Linked DNA regions of Homo sapiens: all the other regions are linked to region 1. Evidence: promoter capture Hi-C in 16 types of primary human blood cells and fetal thymus (Javierre and others, 2016). All regions are on one chromosome and are shown on one strand. Each heading gives the region's core, a stretch centred on a gene start or on the middle of the fragment in contact. The rest is flanking DNA. Distances are from core to core; before and after follow the strand shown.

The links. Contacts are between HindIII fragments. The CHiCAGO score rates a contact against its expected background, and 5 or more counts as called.
Region 2: a contact is called between a fragment that was not itself captured here and the fragment with the promoter of TMBIM1 in region 1, in 11 of 17 cell types (erythroblasts, total CD8 T cells, monocytes and 8 more). The highest score is 7.5, in erythroblasts.
Region 3: a fragment that was not itself captured here is called in contact with the fragment with the promoter of TMBIM1 in region 1 in 1 of 17 cell types (M2 macrophages); the score reaches 5.2 in M2 macrophages.
Region 4: a contact is called between the fragment with the promoter of ARPC2 here and the fragment with the promoter of TMBIM1 in region 1, in 3 of 17 cell types (naive CD4 T cells, naive CD8 T cells and non-activated CD4 T cells). The highest score is 5.9, in naive CD4 T cells.

What each region holds. Positions count from the first base shown.
Region 1 is chr2:218,291,230-218,293,790 of GRCh38, forward strand. It overlaps TMBIM1 (transmembrane BAX inhibitor motif containing 1), which reads right to left and starts at 1,274. Exons shown (of 12, transcript NM_022152.6): 1 at 1,237-1,274. All of the region lies in intron 2 of PNKD (PNKD metallo-beta-lactamase domain containing), which reads left to right. RefSeq lists enhancers at 1-806, 807-1,769, 1,952-2,561 and a silencer at 1,052-1,531. The HindIII fragment of the contact is 24,107 bases long and covers 1-2,561 here.
Region 2 is chr2:218,393,112-218,395,672 of GRCh38, forward strand. It overlaps SLC11A1 (solute carrier family 11 member 1), which reads left to right. Exons shown (of 15, transcript NM_000578.4): 12 at 1-19; 13 at 1,009-1,082; 14 at 1,521-1,674; 15 at 1,814-2,561. The coding sequence ends at 1,924. Among named protein-coding and RNA genes, the nearest start is that of CTDSP1, 5.5 kb to the right of the region's middle. RefSeq lists enhancers at 1-138, 808-1,476, 1,477-2,145. The HindIII fragment of the contact is 5,382 bases long and covers 1-2,561 here.
Region 3 is chr2:218,187,821-218,190,381 of GRCh38, forward strand. No RefSeq gene overlaps it. Among named protein-coding and RNA genes, the nearest start is that of CXCR1, 22 kb to the left of the region's middle. The HindIII fragment of the contact is 6,006 bases long and covers 1-2,561 here.
Region 4 is chr2:218,215,921-218,218,481 of GRCh38, forward strand. It overlaps ARPC2 (actin related protein 2/3 complex subunit 2), which reads left to right and starts at 1,269. Exons shown (of 11, transcript NM_152862.3): 1 at 1,269-1,334; 2 at 1,543-1,624. The coding sequence starts at 1,551. It overlaps LOC101928487 (a long non-coding RNA gene), which reads right to left and starts at 1,266. Exons shown (of 2, transcript XR_923908.2): 1 at 1,108-1,266; 2 at 181-931. RefSeq lists an enhancer at 1,278-1,881 and a silencer at 1,403-1,452. The HindIII fragment of the contact is 6,430 bases long and covers 54-2,561 here.

The DNA of each region.
Region 1 (2,561 bases), core at 24-2,523:
ACAGGGCCCCTGACACTGTGGTCCTGCCTCTTCCATTTAAGCTATAAACTGGTTCTCTGGATCCTCATGACTGGAGAGACAGAGAGAGGAGGCAGGTGAGAAGGAAGTATGGCTCCCCCTTTGCGCCAATAAAGCAGCCCCAGGAGGCACCTGGCTCCCCTGCCACCACTGGCCAGCCCAAAGTCGCCAGCTTGGAAACCAAAGCTCACTAATGAGATGAATATTTCAGAGCCCAGAGAACTGGACACCTGAGGGCCCTTCCATGACATCTGGCTCTGACCTGCGTTCCCAGGCCTACTTATCCCATGTCCAGGGTGCTCAGGTAGAACCCCAAACTCCTGGGTACCACGTAGAGGCCACAGAGGAGGGAGAGGAGATGGAGACCCCATAGGACAAGAATTGGTGCCGACCCCACAAGGCCAGGGCCTGGCCTCCCAGCAGCCTCCCTCTGCTTCCTCCCACTGGTCCCTGGCTCCTGCCCCAGTCTCTCCACTTGCTTTCCCTTTTCCCGTTTCTCTGTTTTGTTTTCACTCTAACCCAAAGAAGTCACGAGGAGGATGTTACTCCCCTGTAGTTCTGTGAACCCAGCCGGGAAACAGTGGCTGGAAGTGGGACTGGCAGAGGGCAAAGTCATGGTGATAGAGGTGGCCACTTCCCCATGCCAAACACTTGAGCTGCTCATTGGCTTCTGCCCCAGCTGCAAGCTAGGACCCCCCCTTCCCCACCCCTTAAATATTCACCTGTCTACACCGAGACTGGCCTCAGCGCGTGTGGGGGCAACCTGGGGTCCGTGCCAGGCCCTGGCTGTCTCCCCTCCCTCTTCCCTCTTCTCACCAGCTGAGGGCCATGAAAGCCCTCATCCCACACAGCTGGCCACTCGGGCTGGCATGGTGGATAGGCCCTGCGACAGAGAGGCCACTCGTGCCCGAAAGAGGGAACACGAGGACACCCCCAGACCCTGGCTCCGCTCACCAGTGCCCACAACACGCTGCTGGGCTCCCAAGGCTAACCAGGTGCCACAGACCCGGCCGCCCACCCGCGCGCCCAGGGAGAGCGAAACGCCAAGGGCCAGGAGGGGAGATCCCCATCTGGAACGGGCTCCTTGGGCCCAGGAGCGGGCAAGCCGGGAGCGCGCTCCGAAAAGTTTAGGCGCCCCGGCGCATGGCCGCCCCAGCCCTGGACCAGTCCCCACCGCCCACAGTCCCCAACGGCGCCGGCCCCGGCCCCCTGGCTTGCCTGCGCCGTTCCAGACGGAGCGTTCCTGGCCTCGGAGTGTTGCAAGTCCTCCGGGGCCGGGCAGGGCTAGGCTCGGCTGGGGCTCCGCGCCCCGCCCCGTCGCGCCGGCCTCGTGGGGCGGGGCCTCAGGGCGCCGCCAGGGGGCGCAGGGGTCTGTCCCGGGCGCGCGCGCCTCTCAGAGCCCCGACGACGCCTCACTAATAACACAGGGGTATTTTCGGATTTAAAGGCAATACATGATACTGATAGGAAGCTAGAAAAGACACAGAAATGCAGGGAAGAAAGTAATTTCTCTCCACCCCTCCTAGTTCCCAGGGGGAAGCGTTCGCTTTGGGTCCTTCTTTGGCTATTACATTTCTGTATGTATTTTGTTTTTCTACAGTGGGGTATATTGTATGGTGTTTTGTTTACTGCCCTTCTTTTTACTGTTTTATGATGAACATTTTTCTTCTCACTAAATAGTCTTCAAAAGCACAATCTTAATGCCGTGAAGTATTCCATTGCATGGCTATGCGGATTAAATTAATTTCCTACTGGAGGCCGTTTGTTTCCCATTTTTACATTACAAATAAATCAGTAATTAAAATCCTTGATAATTCTGTGTTTTTGAGATAAATGCACTTTTCGAGTTTAAAACTGCAAACATGCAAACCTAGAATCTCTGTTTATAATTACTCAACCAGGAAAGCAGGTGCTTTCCTCAAGTCAGAATTCAGAAGTCCTACATTGAGATGTAGATTACTACTGTTAGGTAGGTCTTAACCCTCATCTCAGTGAAGAATGCAGTAGCAAAGGAGGAAACAGTTTTGAGGAAGTTCTGAAATATTACTGGAGCCTGGGCATGGTGACTCACACCTGCGATCCTAGCACTTTTGGGAGGCCAAGGCCAGAGGATGGCTTGAGCCCAGGAGTTGGAGACCCAGCCTAGGCAACATAGAGAGACCTTGTCTCAATTTAAAAAGAGAAACATTACCGAGCCTTGCCTGAGTTTCTGTGGTTCCAAAGTCCAAGTTCTTTCCATGACACCAAGGCTGCCAGTAGTTGACCAACTCTGTTTAAAGTGCTTATCTCATGTTAATAGCTATAGGTCAGCACCACACCACCACTGAATGTCCTTTTTTTTTTTTTTTTTTTTTTCCAGACAGGGTCTCGCTCTGTCACCCAGGCTGGAGTGCAGTGGCGCCATCTCGGCTCACTGCATCCTCCTCCTGGTTTCAAGTGATTCTCCGGCCTCAGCCTCCTGAGTAGCTGGGATTACAAGTGTGTGCCACTACACCCAGCTAATTTTGTTTGTTTGCTTGTTTGTTTTGTTTGGTTTGTTTGTT
Region 2 (2,561 bases), core at 55-2,554, 100 kb after region 1:
CGTGCTGCAGAGCCTGCTGGTGAGATGCGCCAACCCCACCAGCCCTGCCCACTGCTGAGCGAAACAGGACCTCCAGCAACCCCCACGCTGAGCCTTGCATGGGCCTGCCAGGCCCTGTCCCAGGCACATCTTGCCTACAAGGCTTCCATTGTCCCCACAGCCACCCTGGGGGGCAGGAGGGTAGGAATCACCATTATCCTTCCCCCCTCCCACCCCCCAGATGGTCTCCCTCTGTCACCTAGGCTGGAGTGCAGTGGTTCAATCATGGCTCACTGCAGCCTGCCCTCCCTGTCTCTAGCAATCTTCCCACCTCAGGCTCCCGAGTAGCAGGGACTATAGGTGCATGCCATCACACCCAGCTAATTTTTTTTTTTTTTTTTTTGAGACGGAGTTTCACTCTTGTTACCCAGGCTAGAGTGCAGTGGTGAGATCTTGGCTCACTGCAACCTCTGCCTCCCAGGTTCAAGCGATTCTTCTGCCTCAGCCTCCTAAGTAGCTGAGATTACAAGCGCCCACCATCACACCCAGCTAATTTTTTGTATTTTTAGTAGAGACAGGGTTTCATCATGTTGGCCAGGCTAGTCTCAAACTCCTGACCTCAGGTGATCCACCCGCCTTGGCCTCCCAAAGTGCAAGGATTACAGGCATGAGCCACTGAGGCAGGTCTAATTTTTTTTTTTTTTTAAGTAGAGACAAAAGCTCATTATGTTTGTTGCCCAGGCTCATTATTCCATTTTACAGATGGGAAAACTGATGCACTCAGTTAAGTTACTAGTGGCAGGGCTTGGATTCAAACCGAAGCAACCTGGTGCCAGAGCCCCCAAACACTTTCTCCTGCTTTGGAGCCCACAACCTGATAAGGCAGGAGACGGGGAAGTAGGCTCAGTGTGGTTAGGGCAGTTGAGCTCACACCCACACAGAGGGTGTCAAGCCACGCCCATCTTGCCCCCACCCTTGCCATATTCTGAGGCAGAATTCCTCAGCCTAGGCTCCTGCTGCTCTCCCCAGCTCCCGTTCGCCGTGCTGCCCATCCTCACGTTCACCAGCATGCCCACCCTCATGCAGGAGTTTGCCAATGGCCTGTGAGTACCCCCTTTCCCAAGTGCTGGATTGCATCACCACATTTCATCCTCACAGCCACCCAGAGGTACGAGCTACAATTCTCCCCATTATCCCAATGAAGCCACAGAGGCTGAGAGAGGTTAAGGGACTTACCCAGGTTCACACAGCTAGCAAGTTGAGGAGCCAAGACTGGAATCCAGGGAAGAGGGCTGTTTCTAGAGCCTGAGCGCCTCACTCTCGCCTCAGACTCAGCTCTTGCCAAATCCCGCCAGTGTGTAGCCTGGAGGGCCCAGGAGGCAGGAGGTGGGGAGGGGGTCTGTCTGCTCCAGGTCCCACAGACCAGAGAAGCGGCCTCAGTGTATCCCCACCCCCAGTGTGGGCGCTGGGAGATGAAGAGGAGTTGATGCAGGTGGGCCAGCAGCAACCAGCCAGTCCTGAGCCTCTCTCGTGTCCCCCAGGCTGAACAAGGTCGTCACCTCTTCCATCATGGTGCTAGTCTGCGCCATCAACCTCTACTTCGTGGTCAGCTATCTGCCCAGCCTGCCCCACCCTGCCTACTTCGGCCTTGCAGCCTTGCTGGCCGCAGCCTACCTGGGCCTCAGCACCTACCTGGTACAGTAGGGCCAGGGGATGCCTTGGGAATGGATGAGGGAAGGACAAGAGGCAACCAATGGGGAGGGTTTGGGGGGACACAATGGGGCTTCCCCAGAGGTCTTGGCATCTCCCCAATTCATGGTTGCCCCTCCCCCAGGTCTGGACCTGTTGCCTTGCCCACGGAGCCACCTTTCTGGCCCACAGCTCCCACCACCACTTCCTGTATGGGCTCCTTGAAGAGGACCAGAAAGGGGAGACCTCTGGCTAGGCCCACACCAGGGCCTGGCTGGGAGTGGCATGTATGACGTGACTGGCCTGCTGGATGTGGAGGGGGCGCGTGCAGGCAGCAGGATAGAGTGGGACAGTTCCTGAGACCAGCCAACCTGGGGGCTTTAGGGACCTGCTGTTTCCTAGCGCAGCCATGTGATTACCCTCTGGGTCTCAGTGTCCTCATCTGTAAAATGGAGACACCACCACCCTTGCCATGGAGGTTAAGCACTTTAACACAGTGTCTGGCACTTGGGACAAAAACAAACAAACGAAAAACATTTCAAAAGGTATTTATTGAGCACCTGCAGGCGTGACCTGACAGCCCAAGGGTGGGTGGGGTGAGGGCTTGAGGACTTGGGCGGGACACAGGCTCCAAACTGGAGCTTGAAATAGTGTCTGATGAATGTTAAATTATCTATCTATCTATTTATTTATTTATTTGAGACAGGGAAAGGGTCTCCCTCTGTTGCCAAGGCTGGAGTGCAGTGGCGCAATCTTAACTCATTGCAACCTCCACCTTCTGGGTTCAAGCGATTCTCTTTATTCAGCCCCGGGAGTGGCGCGCGCCACCACGCCCAGCTAATTTGTGTATTTTCAGCAGAGACGGGGTTTGCCATGCTGGCCAGGCTGGTCTC
Region 3 (2,561 bases), core at 19-2,518, 100 kb before region 1:
TTGTATGTCTTCTGGCTGCTCTGTCTCAATTTCCACCCACAGAGCCAAGGAAGCCTCCAGCCAATTCCAGGGAGCATCTTTCTGGGCCCTGGGTTTAGAGACCTGTGATTCTCTTTATTCCCTCTGCTCCAGATTCTCCAAATCAGCTCACTTTGGGCTCTCTTGGCCCTGTGTCTTTCCTGTCACTGGTTTGTCAACTGCCTCCACTCAGTGCCTCCCCTTAGCCCTTCCTGTCCTTACGGTTTCTAAATGCAATTCTAATAGCTTCACAAATGTGCTCCTCCACTTTCCTAGGCACCAAGGAAACCTTGACCCACAGGCTTTAATTTTACCCTTGCAGTGAATTCTTATTGACTTTCACTGACCACTGGAACCCACCTACTTGCCCTGAGAACACTCCCATTATCTTTCAATTAAAATAAGACCCTTGATTTATACTTTAATATACATATATCCAGGCTGGGCACAGTGGCTCACCCCTGTAATTCCAGCACTTTAGGAGGTCGAGGCAGGAGGATCGTTTAAGCCCAGGCATTCAAGACCAGCCTGGGCAACACAGTGGAACCTCATACCTCTACAAAGCAATTTTCAAAATTAGCCAGGTGTGGTGGAACACACCTGTGGTCCCAGCTACTCAGGAGGCTGAGGTGGGAGGATTGCTCAAGCCCAGGAGGTCAAGGATGCAATGAGCCATGATCACACCACTGCACTCCAGCCTGGGCAACAGACCAAAACCTTGTCTCAAAAAATAATTTTATATACATATATATACACACATGTATCCAGACTCCTGCTGAAACTACCTCTCCCTGTTCCAATGCCACACATCTAGTTCAGCCTGCAGATGAGTTTCTTTGACTGCCTGGGATTGGTTTCCTTGTTTGTTTAAATTAGAATTGGTTTCTGACTTTTAAACCTTGAGGCTTTTTCACATTTAAAAACATCTGGATTTATACACTCTCCTTTAAAATTTTGAAGATCTGGGCTGGGCGCCATGGCTCATGCCTGTAATCCCAGCTCTTTGGGAGGCCAAGGCGGGTGGATCACCTGAGGTCAGGAGTTCAAGAAGAGCCTGGCCAACATGGTGAAACCCTGTCTCCACTAAAAATATGAAAATTTGCTGGACATGGTGGCATGCACCTGTAATCCCAGCTACTCAGGAGGCTGAGGCGGGAGAATCACTTGAACCCGGGAGGTAGAGGTTGCAGTGAGCCGAGATCATACCATTGCACTCCAGCCTGGGAGACAAAAGCAAAACTCCATCTTAAAAAAAAAAAAAAAAAAAAAAAAAATTGAAGATTTGACAACACTGAGCTCATGGCAAAACTCAGCTAAACCTAGAATGTAAAAGAAATCCTAGAAATAGAGCCACACTTACACCATCACTTGATTTTCAACAGAAGTTCCAAAGCAATCCAGTGAGGGAAAGGAAGGTTTTATCAACAATGTGGGCCAGACACAGTGGCTCACGCCTGTAATCCACGCACTTTGGGAGGCCAAGGCAGGTGGATCACTTGAGGCCAGGAGTTTGAGACCAGCCTGGGCAGCCTGGCGAAACCCCATCTCTACAAAAAATGCAAAAATTAGCCAGGCGTGCTGATATGCACCTATAGTCCCAACTACTCAAGAGGCTGAGGTGGGAGAATTGTTTGAGCCTCGTAGGCAGAGGTTGCAGTGAGCTGAGACCCAGCCTGGGTGAAAGTGAGATTCTATCTGAAAAGAAAAAAAAGAAAGAAAAAGAAAAGAAATCTCATTACACAATCAAACATCACATCACCAGAATGACTAAAAATACAAAAGCATGATAATATCGACTATTAGTGGGTTGTAGTATAGCTGGAATCCTCACATATAATTAGTGGGAATGTAAAATGGTGCAAACACTTTGGTAAAAGGTCTGGCAGTTTCTTCTACTTTCTGACCCAGCAATCCCACTCCTAGGAATATGCCCAAGAGAAATGAAAATAATATGTTCACAAAAATATCAATAGCTTTATTGATAATTGCCAAAAACTAGAAACAGTCCAGGTGTCCATCAATAGGAGAATGGCTAAACATACAGTGGAATAGTCATACAATGGAGTCATTCTCATCAATAAAAAGGACTGAATTACTGATATACTCCACAACATGATGTATCTTAAAAACATTACACTGAGTAAAAGAAGCCTTCCACTTCTATGAAGTTCTAGAACAGGTGAAACTAATCTGAAAATAATCAGAGCAGAAGTTACCTCTGGGAGGATGGAGGCAGAGACAAACCAGCCATGGGGGGACATGAGAGGATTTTTAGGAATGATGGTAATGTTTTCTATATTGATGGGCATTGGGATTACACAGGGGCACCTATTAGTTGAAACTTAGTGAATATACACTTAAGATTTGTGCACTTCATTGTCTACAAATTTTACATCAAAAGAAAACACTAAAGGCCAGGTGCAGTGGCTCACGCCTGTAATCCTAGCACTTTAGGAGGCCAAGGTAGGAGGATCACTTGAGGTCAGGAGTTTGAGACCAGCCTGGCCAACATGGTGAAGCCCCGTCTCTACTAAAAATACAAA
Region 4 (2,561 bases), core at 19-2,518, 75 kb before region 1:
AAAAAAAAAAATTTAAGTTAGCGTATAATTTTAGGGGATCAGCAATATCCTGAAGCTTATCCATAGCCCGTTAAGTAATGTTTCAAAGGGCTATCTGTGCCTTAATGATAGGAGCTAGTTTCTTGTTCATTTTTTTATCCCCATCCCCAAACACATAGCAGAAAATAAATTATTTCCTTGTATGTAGAACGGACTCAGCTAAGTTTATTATATTCTCCCCGGAGGAGGGAAAACACAAAACAAGGCACAAAGGCAGAAGGTGCAGATGTAGCACAACGATGAGTTAAGATTCCGCACGCAGGTAACAAGGAGGGTATGGTATATCTCTGCCAGAGGTACTGGAAGGTTTCAAAGGCAGAAAAAAATGTGTTCCGGACACCTGGACGCAGAATTGGAGGCATGACAGGAACACAGGGAGGCCCATCTAAGTTGCCTATTCACCCAGGTGACCTCTCTTTCATTTCTTTAATTGTCCTTTTAACAATATGGGGAATTTCACCCAAGGAAAGGGTCCTCTTCTCGCCCCAGCAGGCAAGGGGTGTTCCTCCAGCGCAAGTTCCGGCCCCAGCTGCCCCCACGTCCCACAGGTCTCCTGCCTTTTGGCACGCACACTCCTGACCACTCGCTGCTTCCGCATCCCTACTCTGATCCTCTCCCCATGCATCTCTGCCTCCTTAGACAACTGAGAATTTTATTGTCTGTTTCCTTTGCCAGACTGTAAGTTCCACGAGGGCAGGGCCTCGTCCATTTCATTTACCACTACATCCCCAGTATAGAGCAAGAGCCCATGAAAATGTTTGTTGGAGAAATGAATGCATGATGGTGTCGCTGGACAGCTATACCTGGAAAGAAAAAGAGGCACCCCCATCAAACAAGCTGGGAGCTAAGAAGCCCGCTGGGAGACGACAAGGGCGAGCTTCTTGCGAGGTTTCTGAAATGACAAGACCGGAAGAATGGAGTTGGATCTCTGGGACAAGCGGGAGAGAGAAGCTGAACAGTCAGGCAAGCCTCGGGGAATGACAGCTCCGCGGGGGACGCACTGGTAGGCGGTAGACGTAAGCGGGGTCGGTGGGAAAGTAGACGGTGGGGCGGCGGCATCACACATACGCAAGCGCAGCCTCCGTTTCCTCCGGCGCGCCTGCGCTCGCGTTCACGAGTGGTTGAAGCGGAAATGGCGCCGCGGGGCCGCGCGTCCAGGCGGCGAGCGGAAGTGGGTGTGAGAGCGGAAGTGGCCGGCTAGAGCCGGGGGCTGGGCGGGGACCGGGCTTGTCGGTGAAGCGGCAGTGGCGGCGGCGGCGGCGGCTCGGCAGGCGGGTTCAGGCTTCGGGGGCCAGGTCGGTTGGGTGGGTGGGTGTCTCCACAGTCTGCGTGCGTGGGCCAGCGCGTTCGTCTTACCCTTCCCTCCACCCCGGCCCCTCTCCCCTTCTCCCCTAACCTCCTACCCCACCCAGCCCCACTCAGGGGGCAGCAGGGCCGCTCCCTCCGTCCTTGCCTCCCTTACCCACCCTCACCGGCCCTTGTTTCTCCTTCCCCTGGGGGCAGCCGCCGCCATGATCCTGCTGGAGGTGAACAACCGCATCATCGAGGAGACGCTCGCGCTCAAGTTCGAGAACGCGGCCGCCGGGTGAGCGCGCGCCCGGGGCCGGGGGTGGCGGGGGAAGCAGAGTTGACCCCAGCTAATCCCCAATGTTGTCCAGTCCCCCAGACCTGGAGGAGAGAAATGGGGTGCCTGGCAGGGTGTAGGGGCTGCCCCAGCGGGGTAGACGTGGGAGGCGATTGGGCGCGGCCGGGCGAGGGGCAGAGATGCGTGGGGAGAGGCTCAGAGGAGGGATGCGGAAGCAGCGAGTGGTGAGGGCTGTGCGTGCCAAAGGGCAGGAGACCTGTGGGACGTGGGGGACCCTGGAGCCGGAACTCGCTCCGGAGTAGCCCCCTGCCCTCTGGGGCGAGAAGGGGACCCCTTCCCTGCGTGAAATTCCCCGGCATTGTTCTGAACCCAGAGAGAGCCTGTTTGGAATTGGGTTGGAAGGAGTTTTCAGGAATTCCCAGGACTGGAGGAGGGAAGGAGATGCAGGCCCACATCGCCACCAGCATTCTCGTTCCCCACCCCCATCTCCTTTAAAAGGAGCAGAAGAGAAGACTAAAAGCCGACCCAGTCTTAGAGCCGGAAAAACGCGATCTCTGGTTTCCCTTCCCCGAACCCTTCTGTGAGAGACACTGGGCCATTTTGTTACATATTTTTAAAGCAAAGCCAATTGTCCCTCGCTCCACACCCCTTCCTTATCTCTCCTTTGAGGTTCTAATGCTCTCTCCTCACCCACTAGCCTTTATCTGGTTATCTTGTAAATTCTTACATCAAGACCCTAGGTCTGTGATTTCTTCTGTGGTAGCCCTGGCCCAGTTACACACTTCAAAGACTCCAGAATCTATAAAGTTCTTAGATAACCTGTCTTTACGATTGGACTTTTTAAAAGATGGGCTTAGGGCATCTTTCCAAGGCAGCCTCTCTGCCAAACACAAGAATCAGTAGAAGACAATCTGCTCCTCCAAAGCTGCTTTGCTTT